2 separate regions of the Homo sapiens genome follow, and region 1 is linked to region 2. Evidence: promoter capture Hi-C in 16 types of primary human blood cells and fetal thymus (Javierre and others, 2016). All regions are on one chromosome and are shown on one strand. The core of a region is centred on a gene start or on the middle of the fragment in contact, and the rest is flanking DNA. Distances in the headings are between cores, read along the strand shown. Region 1 holds the start of SUCLA2 (succinate-CoA ligase ADP-forming subunit beta). Region 2 holds the start of LRCH1 (leucine rich repeats and calponin homology domain containing 1).

What was found. Contacts are between HindIII fragments. The CHiCAGO score rates a contact against its expected background, and 5 or more counts as called.
Region 1: the fragment with the promoter of SUCLA2 here is called in contact with the fragment with the promoter of LRCH1 in region 2 in 1 of 17 cell types (fetal thymus); the score reaches 5.3 in fetal thymus.

What each region holds. Positions count from the first base shown.
Region 1 is chr13:47,998,474-48,003,535 of GRCh38, reverse strand. SUCLA2 (succinate-CoA ligase ADP-forming subunit beta) reads left to right here and starts at 2,263. Exons shown (of 11, transcript NM_003850.3): 1 at 2,263-2,356. The coding sequence starts at 2,267. SUCLA2-AS1 (SUCLA2 antisense RNA 1) reads right to left here and starts at 2,131. Exons shown (of 2, transcript NR_189308.1): 1 at 1,714-2,131; 2 at 845-1,101. RefSeq lists enhancers at 1-51, 723-1,922, 2,299-2,488, 2,509-2,558, 2,579-2,628 and a silencer at 2,069-2,178. The HindIII fragment of the contact is 2,000 bases long and covers 2,092-4,091 here.
Region 2 is chr13:46,551,814-46,556,781 of GRCh38, reverse strand. It overlaps LRCH1 (leucine rich repeats and calponin homology domain containing 1), which reads right to left and starts at 3,612. Exons shown (of 20, transcript NM_001164211.2): 1 at 3,079-3,612. The coding sequence starts at 3,385. RefSeq lists enhancers at 2,479-2,798, 2,455-3,155 and silencers at 3,359-3,418, 3,479-3,668. The HindIII fragment of the contact is 3,547 bases long and covers 1,221-4,767 here.

The DNA of each region.
Region 1 (5,062 bases), core at 1,014-3,513, 1.4 Mb before region 2:
TCATTATGTCACTCAGGCTGGAGTGCAGGGGCACGATCACGGTTCACTGCAGCCTGGACCTCCTGGGCTCAAGTGATTTCCCCCCCATCTCAGTCTCTGGAGTAGCTGGGACCACAGGTGTACACCACCATGACTGGCTAATTTTAAAATTATTTATAGAAATGAAGTCTTGCTATGTGGCCCAACCAGTTTGGTCTCAAACTCCTGGGTTCAAGCAATCCTCCCACCTCGGCCTCCCAAAGTGTTTGGATTACAGGCATGAACCATTGTGCCCAGCTACTTTTTTTGTTTTGATCGAAATTATCATGTGATTTTTCTAACTTAATATAGTGCATTACACATATTTTCAAATATTAAAACAAACTTACATCTCTGGAATATATCCCACTTGGTCATATTGTACAATTCTTTTTATATATTTCTGAATTATATTTGCTAATATTTTGCTATGGATTTTTCCATCAATATTCATGAGAAGTGTTGGTATTTTTTTCTTTTTGTACGGTCTTTTGCTGGCTTTGGTAGTGGGGTGATTCTAACTTCATACAGTACATTGGCAACTGTTCCTTCCTCTTCTATCTTCTGGAAGAGGCTGTATGGAATTGGTGTTAATTCTTGTGTAAACATTTTATAGAATTCATCAGTGAAAGCTTTTGGGCCTGGAGATCTCAGGTTTTTTTTTTTTTTAGTTTAAAAATTACAATTACAATTTTCTCTAGTTAGAGGACTATTTAAATTACCTTTTCATATTAGGTTATTTGTAGTAATTTGTGCCTTCTGAAGAATTCGCTCATCTTGTCAAAGTTGTCAAATTTATGTTATGTGGTGTTATTTATGGCATTCCTTTTTGGTGTCTGAAGGTTCTGTAATTATATTCCCTGGTATGTTCCTCACATTGGTAATTTGTGTCTTCTCTTTTTCTTTTTTCTTTGCAGTCTTGCTGGAGGTTTGTTAAATTTATTTATCTTTTCAAAAACCAGATCCTTGGCTGGGTGTGGTTGCCCACACCTGTCATCCCAGCACTTTGGGAGACTGAGGCAGGAGGATCGCTTGAACCCACGAGTTGGAGACCAGCCTGGGCAACATAGAGAGATTCTGTCCCTAAAAAAATAAAATAAAAAAATCAACCAAGCCTGGTGACACACATCTGTGGTCCCAAACTACTCCAGAGGCTGAGGTGGGAGGATCCCTTGAGCATGGGAGGTTGAGGCTGCAGTGAGCTGTGATCGCGTCACTGCACTCCAGCCTGGGTGACAGACCAAGACCCTGTCAATCAGTCAATCAATCAATCAATAGCTTCCCTGGAGACTCCAGCCTGCCACCAGCTTTGGTAACTAGTGGCCGACTGTCAGGCCTCTGAGCCCAAGCCTGCACGTGTACATCCAGATGGCCTGAAGCAAGTGAAGAATCACAAAAGAAGGGAAATTGGCCGGTTCCTGCCTTAACTGATGACATTCCACCATTGTGATTTGTTCCTGCCCCACCTTAACTGAGTGATTAACCTTGTGAAATTCCTTCTCCTGGCTCAGAACCTCCCCCACTGAGCACCTTGTGACCCCCGCCCCTGCCCGTAAGAGAAAAACCCCCTTTGTAATTTTCCGCTACCCATCCAAATCCTATAAAACAGCCCCACCCCTATCTCCCTTTGCTGACTCTCTTTTCGGACTCAGCCCGCCTGCACCCAGTTAAAATAAACAGCCTTATTGCTCACACCCTGTTTGGCGGTGTCTTCACACGGATGCGCGTGACACCGATCTCTTTGAGCATCAGAAGCGCATGACACCGACCATCTTCTCTTTGAGCATCACAAGCGCGTTACACCGACCATCTTCTCTTTGAGCATCACAAATGGTTTTATTCATTGCTGTAGGCCAAGGGCTCAAGGCTGTTTAGCACGAAGTAGACACTGGGTAATCATTTCTTGAATGAAACACATTTTACAGATGAGGCAACTGAGGCTGAGAGAAGTTAAGATCACCCAAGTGGCGGCGCTGGTCACCTTTACATTGCAATTCACTAGGAAGTGTTCAGGTTGCTCTGACCGCAGGGCAGATATTGGGGCTGCGGTGCCCAGTTCCAAAGGTCAAAGCTTGCTCCGCGCCCGCCAGGGAGCTGGTCTAGCGGCTGCAGTGTTAACCCGAGGCCCCGCCCCCAACGGGTGGCGCGAGGCGGGGCGTAGGTGAGCGCTGCAGAGAGGCTGCGCCTTGGGCCGCCTGTCGCCTGTGCGCCTGCGCGCGGCGCCGAGGGGACGGGGTCCGACTCAGAAATGGCGGCCTCCATGTTCTACGGCAGGCTAGTGGCCGTGGCCACCCTTCGGAACCACCGGCCTCGGACGGCCCAGCGGGCTGCTGCTCAGGTAATGCCTTCCAGTCCGCTGTCGTCTCGAGGGTCGGCAGGAGAAAGGGTGAGGTGTGAGGGGTCCCGTGGCCCGGCTCGGGGTCACTTCGCCGGCAGTGACATTTTCTGGGTGCCCTGCAAGGCCCTCGGGCGACTTGCCTGGGAGTGCTGCTCGCCAGGACTACGAGCGAGCCCATGTTTGCGCGGCTCTGACCCAGCCCTTAGTCCGCGAGGATCCCCGGCGGCCCGGCCGTGGCTGCTCCTGCAGTTTCTAAGAGATGGGCGGGAGCAGGTGGGCTCTGAGTGGAGGTGAGGGGGTCAGGACATTTTCTGCTGCCATTCCGGCGTCTGGCACGGTGGGCTGAGACTTGCGCCGCCCCTTTTTGGGCAGGGGGGAATGCCCTTCAAAAGTACTTTTGTGTTTCTTGGGAGCTGTCATAGGTGGGAATGTCAGAGGACCAGCGGTGCTTACTGACTTGCCTTTTGTGGGGCAAGGTAGGGAAGTTTCCCCTCTCCTCCAAGTAGTTGTATACTGTTCTACTTGTTAATAGCAGTAATAAGATTATGTTTTCTACCTAACCAGTTGGAGAGGTAAGAAAATAATCTTTTGTATAGCCTTATTTCTGGATAGGCTATAGCATAATAGTTACTGGCCTTGTTTTGAATATTTGATGTGTGCCAGGTAATGTGCTAAGCGCTTTACGTGTAGTTTCTCAGGTTTTTCAGCAACTGTGAGGAAGTCATTCAACACCTGCATCATTGTTGAACATATTATGGTTAAGAGAACAAGTAATTTGGACTAGGTCATATAGGAGGTAAGATCAAAGCTGAGATTTAATCCCAGAGGTGTCTGGTTCTAAAGCCGTGTACTTGAGTTGGCTCCACAACTTCGAAAACAAACATCTTCCTTCCAACTTTGACAACAAAAAACTGTGGAAGGGCATTATTGGTGTCCTAAGTCAATTCCAGAGTTTTGGGTTTTTTTCTGAAGTAACTCTTCATACATGTCATAGTATGAATTGATTTAGGGCCCTCCCGCCCCTACCTTTTTTTTTTTTTTTCATTTTTATTGAAGTTGTTCATACTTTCAGCCTAGGGGTAGTGAGTTCTGTGAGTTTGCTTCCCGATAGAAGTGACTTTTTGACCTTGAACTTCCTTCTTATGAATCTTAGAAGAGTGCTATTTAGTTTTTAGAAAATGGGGAATTTAGTGACAAATACGTTTTCATTCTAGTCAAAATCTTTATCTTTTTGGAAGTTCATTTAAAAGCCTTCATTTCTCCTTATGGAAATTTCCAATATTATTTTCTTTATAACAGTTGCTGTCTTCTACCCTGGTATTAAGAAATGCAGCTCTAGAGTTTGGAAGGACCTTAGTCCAACCCTTTGCTTTTGTAGATGAGGACATAGAAGTACGGAGTCTTAAGAAACTCGTTCAAGGTCACACATTTAATTTAGCAATTTGTTTTCCACATTTTTTTTTTTTTTTCCTTGAGACGGAGTCTTGCTCTGTCGCCCAGGCTGGAGTGCAGTGGCGCGATCTTGGCTCACTGCAAGCTCCGCCTCCCGGGTTCATGCCATTCTCCTGCCTCAGCCTCCCTAGTAGCTGGGACTGCAGGCGCCTGCCACCACGTCCGGCTAATTTTTTGTATTTTTAGTAAAGACGGGGTTTCACCGTGTTAGCCAGGACGGTCTCGATCTCCTGACCTCGTGATCCTCCCGCCTCGGCCTCCTAAAGTGCTGGGATTACAAGCTTGAGCCACCGCACCCGGCCTGTTTTAAACATTTGTTTAAGTTCTCTGACCCTCCTCCAATTTCTTGGTATCTTTAGCCTAGTGTACCTTCGTTGAAAATAGATATTTCAGCATATGTCTTTAAGAATAAGGACATTCTTCCAAATAACCGCAGTGATCATACTTAGGAATTCAACATTGCTGTAACATGAATATATATAGTTTAGATTCAGATTTTTCTAGTTGTCCCCAAAGTGTTCTTTATAGACATTAGATTTTTTAAAAATTTAAACTGGGATGAGACCTTGTGACATTTTCTCTGACCAACTAACCAATTAGGTGCCACCTAGTGACTTATGTGCTAGTGACCTAGTGCTCTTATATGTGTTGCAGTTGTTTATTTACATGCCTGTGAACTCTGTGGCTGGGACCCAAGTGTCTTTATTTTTTTAGTGTCCCTAGCCCACTGTCTAGTTCATAGTCATCACAAAAAATATTTGAGTGTATGACTTTTTGCCAGGCTTATGCTAGTTACTCCCCTACCCACTAATTTTTATTATTATTTTGACGTATAATTTATGTACAGTAAGATGTACAGCTTAAGTGGATAGCTAGATTAATTTTTATGTATGTATTCACCTGTGTAACCATCGTCTGCATCAAGATATACAATGTTTCCAGCCCTCAGAAGGCTCTCATGTCCTCTCTCTTATCAATACTCCCTGACAGAAGGTAGCAACCAATTATGACTTCTGTCACCATAGGCTAATTTTGACTGGTTTTGAACGCTATAAAAATAAATCATGTAAGTATATATTCTTGTTTCTGGCTTCTTTCTCTCTACATTATGTTTGTGAGATTAATCCATCGATGTGTGAGCCATAGTACTTTTTTTCTTTTTATTTCTCTGTAGTATACTATTATATACATATACCACAGTTTATCCATTCTCCTGTTGATGGGCAATCAGCTAATTTCTGTTTTCTGTCTGTT
Region 2 (4,968 bases), core at 2,363-4,862:
TCAACCCCTTCCCTCTGCTTGATGAGAATATGGTCAAGAACATGAATTAACGTGAGGCTGCCAGGGTTCCAATCACCGGTTGACCATCTCAGTAGAGGTATAATCTTCAGCATATTATGTAACTTGTCTCTGTCTCAGTCTTCCCATGTATAAATGAGGGTATGACTGGGCTCCTAGTGGGGACTAAGATCATGCAGATAACGCATAGAGAGGCGCACCCAGTGCTGATAGTGGCTCTTCTGTTTTGTCCCTTTCCATCAGTGACACCTGTGTCACTCACTGCACCTGCGTGGATCAGTCTTTCTTTCCCCGTTTCACCTATTAAAAGACTAGACTCTGACAACAAAACTTATTTTGATTCAAATAGAAGTAAATTAATAGGCTCAAAATGAGAGCTTGAATTTTTTCCTATCAATAAAGTATATGCACTTGAGTGACAGCTTAGACATCTATTCTATGTTTCTTTGTTTACATCTTGGTTTTCCACTCTGTTCAGATGGGCTATATTGCCCAGGTGCAGTTCTGCACAGGTGGCTGCCAGAAGCCTGACTTTTTACAAGGCGTAAACCAAATGGCCTGTAATATACAACAAAACTGTGAGAAAAAGCTTGCTCTACCACTCCCTGTCTTAGAAAATATATGGAAAAAAAAATCCACTTTGCCTCTTAGGCCTTTAAGGATCTTCATATGCCATTCTAATTTTAAGAGACATTCTTAAAGTAAATATGAGTCAAGGAGAAACCACTATCTTTATTATAAATGTTACTACTCAAACTTTCAACTGTACTAGAACTCTTACATGTACGCTGTGTCAACACTGTGTACACCGGAGGTAACTTTAACTCTTTATTTTGCTTTCTGGTCTCTCAAATAAGAAACTGTGCTCAATTAAATTTATCTTTAGAACAAAGAGTACATGTGGTTTACACCTAGCTTTTGACCTGAGGCAAAGACGTTTTGCAGAAGCAAATATTTAATACATTTGGGTATTCTAATTTCATGTAAAATAACTAGCTGCAATGAATACTTTTCTGATGGGGTTGACTTAAGTTTCTACAAACATGAATATCCCTCCACTCCTCTTCCCCCAAATAATACTGTATTTTTGGATGAGGAATTAACATAAAGCCTCTGAATTTTAACCAGTTAGATTTTCCTGAGCATAAAACATGTGCAAGTGAGCTCATAAATAAAAACCTGCAAAACTCACAACTTAAGCTTGCCATAAACAAGCCAACAAGAACACTTTCAGCATCCACTTCACATGGCGAGGTCTTAGCTAAAAGATGTGATCCCTAAAAGCACTGGTCTTCTCAAAGAAATGCCAACACAGCAGACACATCAAGTTCACCTAACTTTGTAAATAATCCTTAGCATAACTGAAGTAGAACAACTATGAAGCCCCCTTACTGAACTACACAAACCTATTATTATTAGTCATGCCAGCTCTATTTTCTGCAGATATAGCCAACCATAGCATAGCTAGCTCACGGTACACTCTATAGCAGAAGGGAAGTAAAATTTAATGTAGTTTTTTAAGTCAGTGATTCAGGCAATTCTTGGAATAAGTTCCACTTGAGAAGATGTAACTAAGAGGTCTTATTGAAAGACACTCCCCAGCTGTTGACAGCTCAACTTTGGAAATTCCCTCTTTTTTGCCGATTCCTGACTATCCCTAAATCCAAATTACAAAGTTTAATGACCCTGGAGAGCCATCTTTGCCTCCAGTGAACTCAGAACTGTATCTAAATATTCATTAAGGCTCTAGATAAATGTTTATTGAATTAAAAGGGGGAAAAGACACTGGAAACCTAGCCTCCAAAAACCCACTGCCTGCTCCCTTGCCCACTACAAGATTAAACTGGGTGCTCCTGTGATGAGAGTCAACCCATCCAAGACCCAGGGGGTCTGACCCTGGGCCATGAGGCGATGACAGCCAAGAGGTCTGGGCAGCGGCTCCAAAACGGAGCACCCACTGCCCTGGGAAATGTTGGGCGCTTGCTATGACACAAACCCTCCCCCAGGGAGCGGAACCGGATGGCCGGAAACCAAGTCAGTTCTGTATAGACCCTAAGGCCCCAATCCTATTCCACCACCCTCCTTCCTGTTTATAGATCCCGCTCCTGGAACTCCAACTACCAAAGAGAAAGCAGACGTTTTAGAAGTATGTAACACATGACGTAACTTGAAAAAGTTATGCTGCTTATTGGCGCGAGTTACAACTTGCCGGGCTCACACAGGAAAACAGGCTCACGTTAATTACTTTGCCTTTAATATGCCACGCCGTCCTTTCCTGGGGCCCCCGCAACGGTTGGGTAACTGAGAACCAGGTAGCCTCGGTGGTAGGACCCAAACTGTGTGGGCGGTGAGCAAAAGGCACGGAAGGAAGAGGGCCGATCGCTTCCGAAGCGGCAGCCGACTGGGATTCACTACAAGCCCGGCGGCTCTTTTCCCGCACAAGCGCAGGGAGAGGAAACTTGGGCACCTCACAGGCGGCACCGAGTTGCCCGATCGCTCGGCGATGTCGCCGAGGGGGCTCGCGGCACTGCGCCGATGCCCCTGGCTCGGCCGAGGGCGTGCCACCTTTGTCTGGGTTTCCCCACCAGGATGGGCTACGCCTCGATGCAAAGACGGCTTGAACTGGTTGGAGGCGCCGACGCCGCTGTCCGCGCTGGAGTTCCCAGCCCTGCGCGGGGCCCAGGAAGCCGACACAGCCGCCTGAAACCTCCCACTTACACTGCGCGCACGCGGCGCGCCTGCAAGTCCCAGCCCCGCGGTTACTTCCCTGGCGCGGCAGCCACAGGGTGGAGAGCCGGAGACCCCTCGCTCTCAGGCGCAGAGGCCCGGCGCACCCCTGCCCTCCTGGCACTGCATCGCCGGACCAGGCAGGGCCCCCGTGCCCTCTCCAGGGCCCGCTTCTTCCGCGCCCACGCGAGTCCCTTCTTCGGGAGACAACGGGCCGATGGACCCTCCCTCCCCCAGCAAGACAAGATCTCCGACTGTCCACCGCGTTAGGGAACGCACGACAGACACCCAGACAGCACCCACACCCCTGCCCGCCCCTCGGCCCTCACTCACCTGCCTGCACCGTGTCCGAGAGGTCGTGCCCGGGGGCTGCGGTACGGGGAAATTCCTTCAATTTCCTGGCGCTCAGGTTCAGCCCCCCGGAGTTGGCCGCCTCCTCAAGCGCGCGCTCCAGACCCCGGTTCAAGGGCAGGTTGAAGCCCCCGCTGCCACCGCCGCCACCACCCGCCCCGCCGGGGGCGCCGGTTCCTCCGTGGTGCTGATGGTGGTGGTGGTGGTGGTGGGGATGATGAAGTGGGTGCAGAGTAGCTACCGAAAGGGCCGGGACGAAAGGTTGGGGTTCGCTTCCCGGCGTCGCCATCTTCTCCCGGGCCCCCCCACCCCGCCCCGCCGCTCCTGCGGGGGGGTCACAGCGTTCCCCGCGAGGGGAAAACGGCAGCTCGGGCTGAGTGCCGCAGTGCTCCACCGAAAGGCGCTGGAAGGAGGGGAGGAGGGTGTGGGCAGGCGCGTAGAATGGGGGGCGGGCGGGGAGGCGGCCGTGGCAGCTCGGTCTTGAAGGTTTCCTGTCCCCGGGAAGCTAAGGACTGCGGCGGCGGCGGCGGCGGCGGCAGCGCGCATGTGTCTCCTCCCGCCCCTGCGCCCTCCCCCCGGCTGCTCTGCCCTCCTCCGCCGTCTGCTCTCTCCTCCTCCTTCCCCCACGCAGTCTGCCCCGCCTGAGCCTTCCTCCGCGCCTATTCTGCCGGCCGCCGCCGCCTTGCCGCGATCCGCCCCGCAATCGGGTACACGGCGGGGCTGGACGTCTGCTCCGGGGCAACTGAGGCGCCGAACCTCTCTCTGGGCGTCCTTTTGCCGCCCAGGAGGCTTTAGGGGACTGGAGGTTGCGGGGATAGGGGGGTGGTCTGAGAACACGGATAAAACGGCGGGAGGCAATGAATGGGATTTACAGTACAGTGAGGTTTGGGGCAGGAGAGGGTTCTCTCAATTCTGCGATTTATTCTGGCCGTTTAACCCAGAGATCCCCAAGAGGCAGTTTTCATTCACTATGGGGTCATCCCTGCAGATGCCCCCTGGCATTTGGGCGCTTACAATGAACCAGACGCTTGTTTAGGGAGTCTACGTAAGTTACCTCATTAATCCAGGGACCCCAGGAGTGCCAAAGTTGTTCCCCTGAGTCTACAGAGGAAGTTAATAAATGTATCTAAGGTCACCCCTGCAGTTAGAGGGGCGCTAGATTCGAGCTAGGGCCCTCAGAATCTAGGGTTGCCCTCCTTCACAGTGTACCCCTGGGCCAGACGCCAGCGCCAAGGGACGAATACGAGTGGGACAGAGTGTTTGCTGAGCGGCAGAAGAAAGCTACAGACATAGGAAAGAAAAACTCAAAATGAGGGCAGTGTTTATGGGGGACAGAAGACATTGTCGTAGGAGAAAGATGAGCTGGCTGCTCCCCGAAATTGGGTGGTGCCAGGAGAGGCTAGAAAGCCAGTGACCCCAAACAGCAAATCAGTCACAGCTCGAGTCTGAGCTGAAAGAACCATCGAAGTCTCCTTGTGCCCTTCTTCTTCCCGCTTTGGGGCATGGAAACGAACATGTCCGCTTGCAAGTGAATTCACATTCTGCCATCAGCCACCCAGTGGCACCCAGGCCAATGCTGGCACACCAGGGGCGACAGAGAACATCTGACACCCTAAGGGCAGACCAGCTGGACGATTAATAGAATACCATTCCTTTCCTGAAGTTAAAGCTTCATGTCCAACTTTCCAGGGCCTTTATTTTTGCTCTATTCTTAAGGCTTGATTGTCCCCTATGAGCGACTTGGCTTGGGGAAAATGAGTCGGGGGGTGGGTGCGGGGTTGTCGGGGTGTCAAGCACGAAAGTAATGCAACCCTTGGAGTAGGGGAGCTGGTTTTTTAAGTGGTAATACATAAGTTTGATGGCCTAGACAAC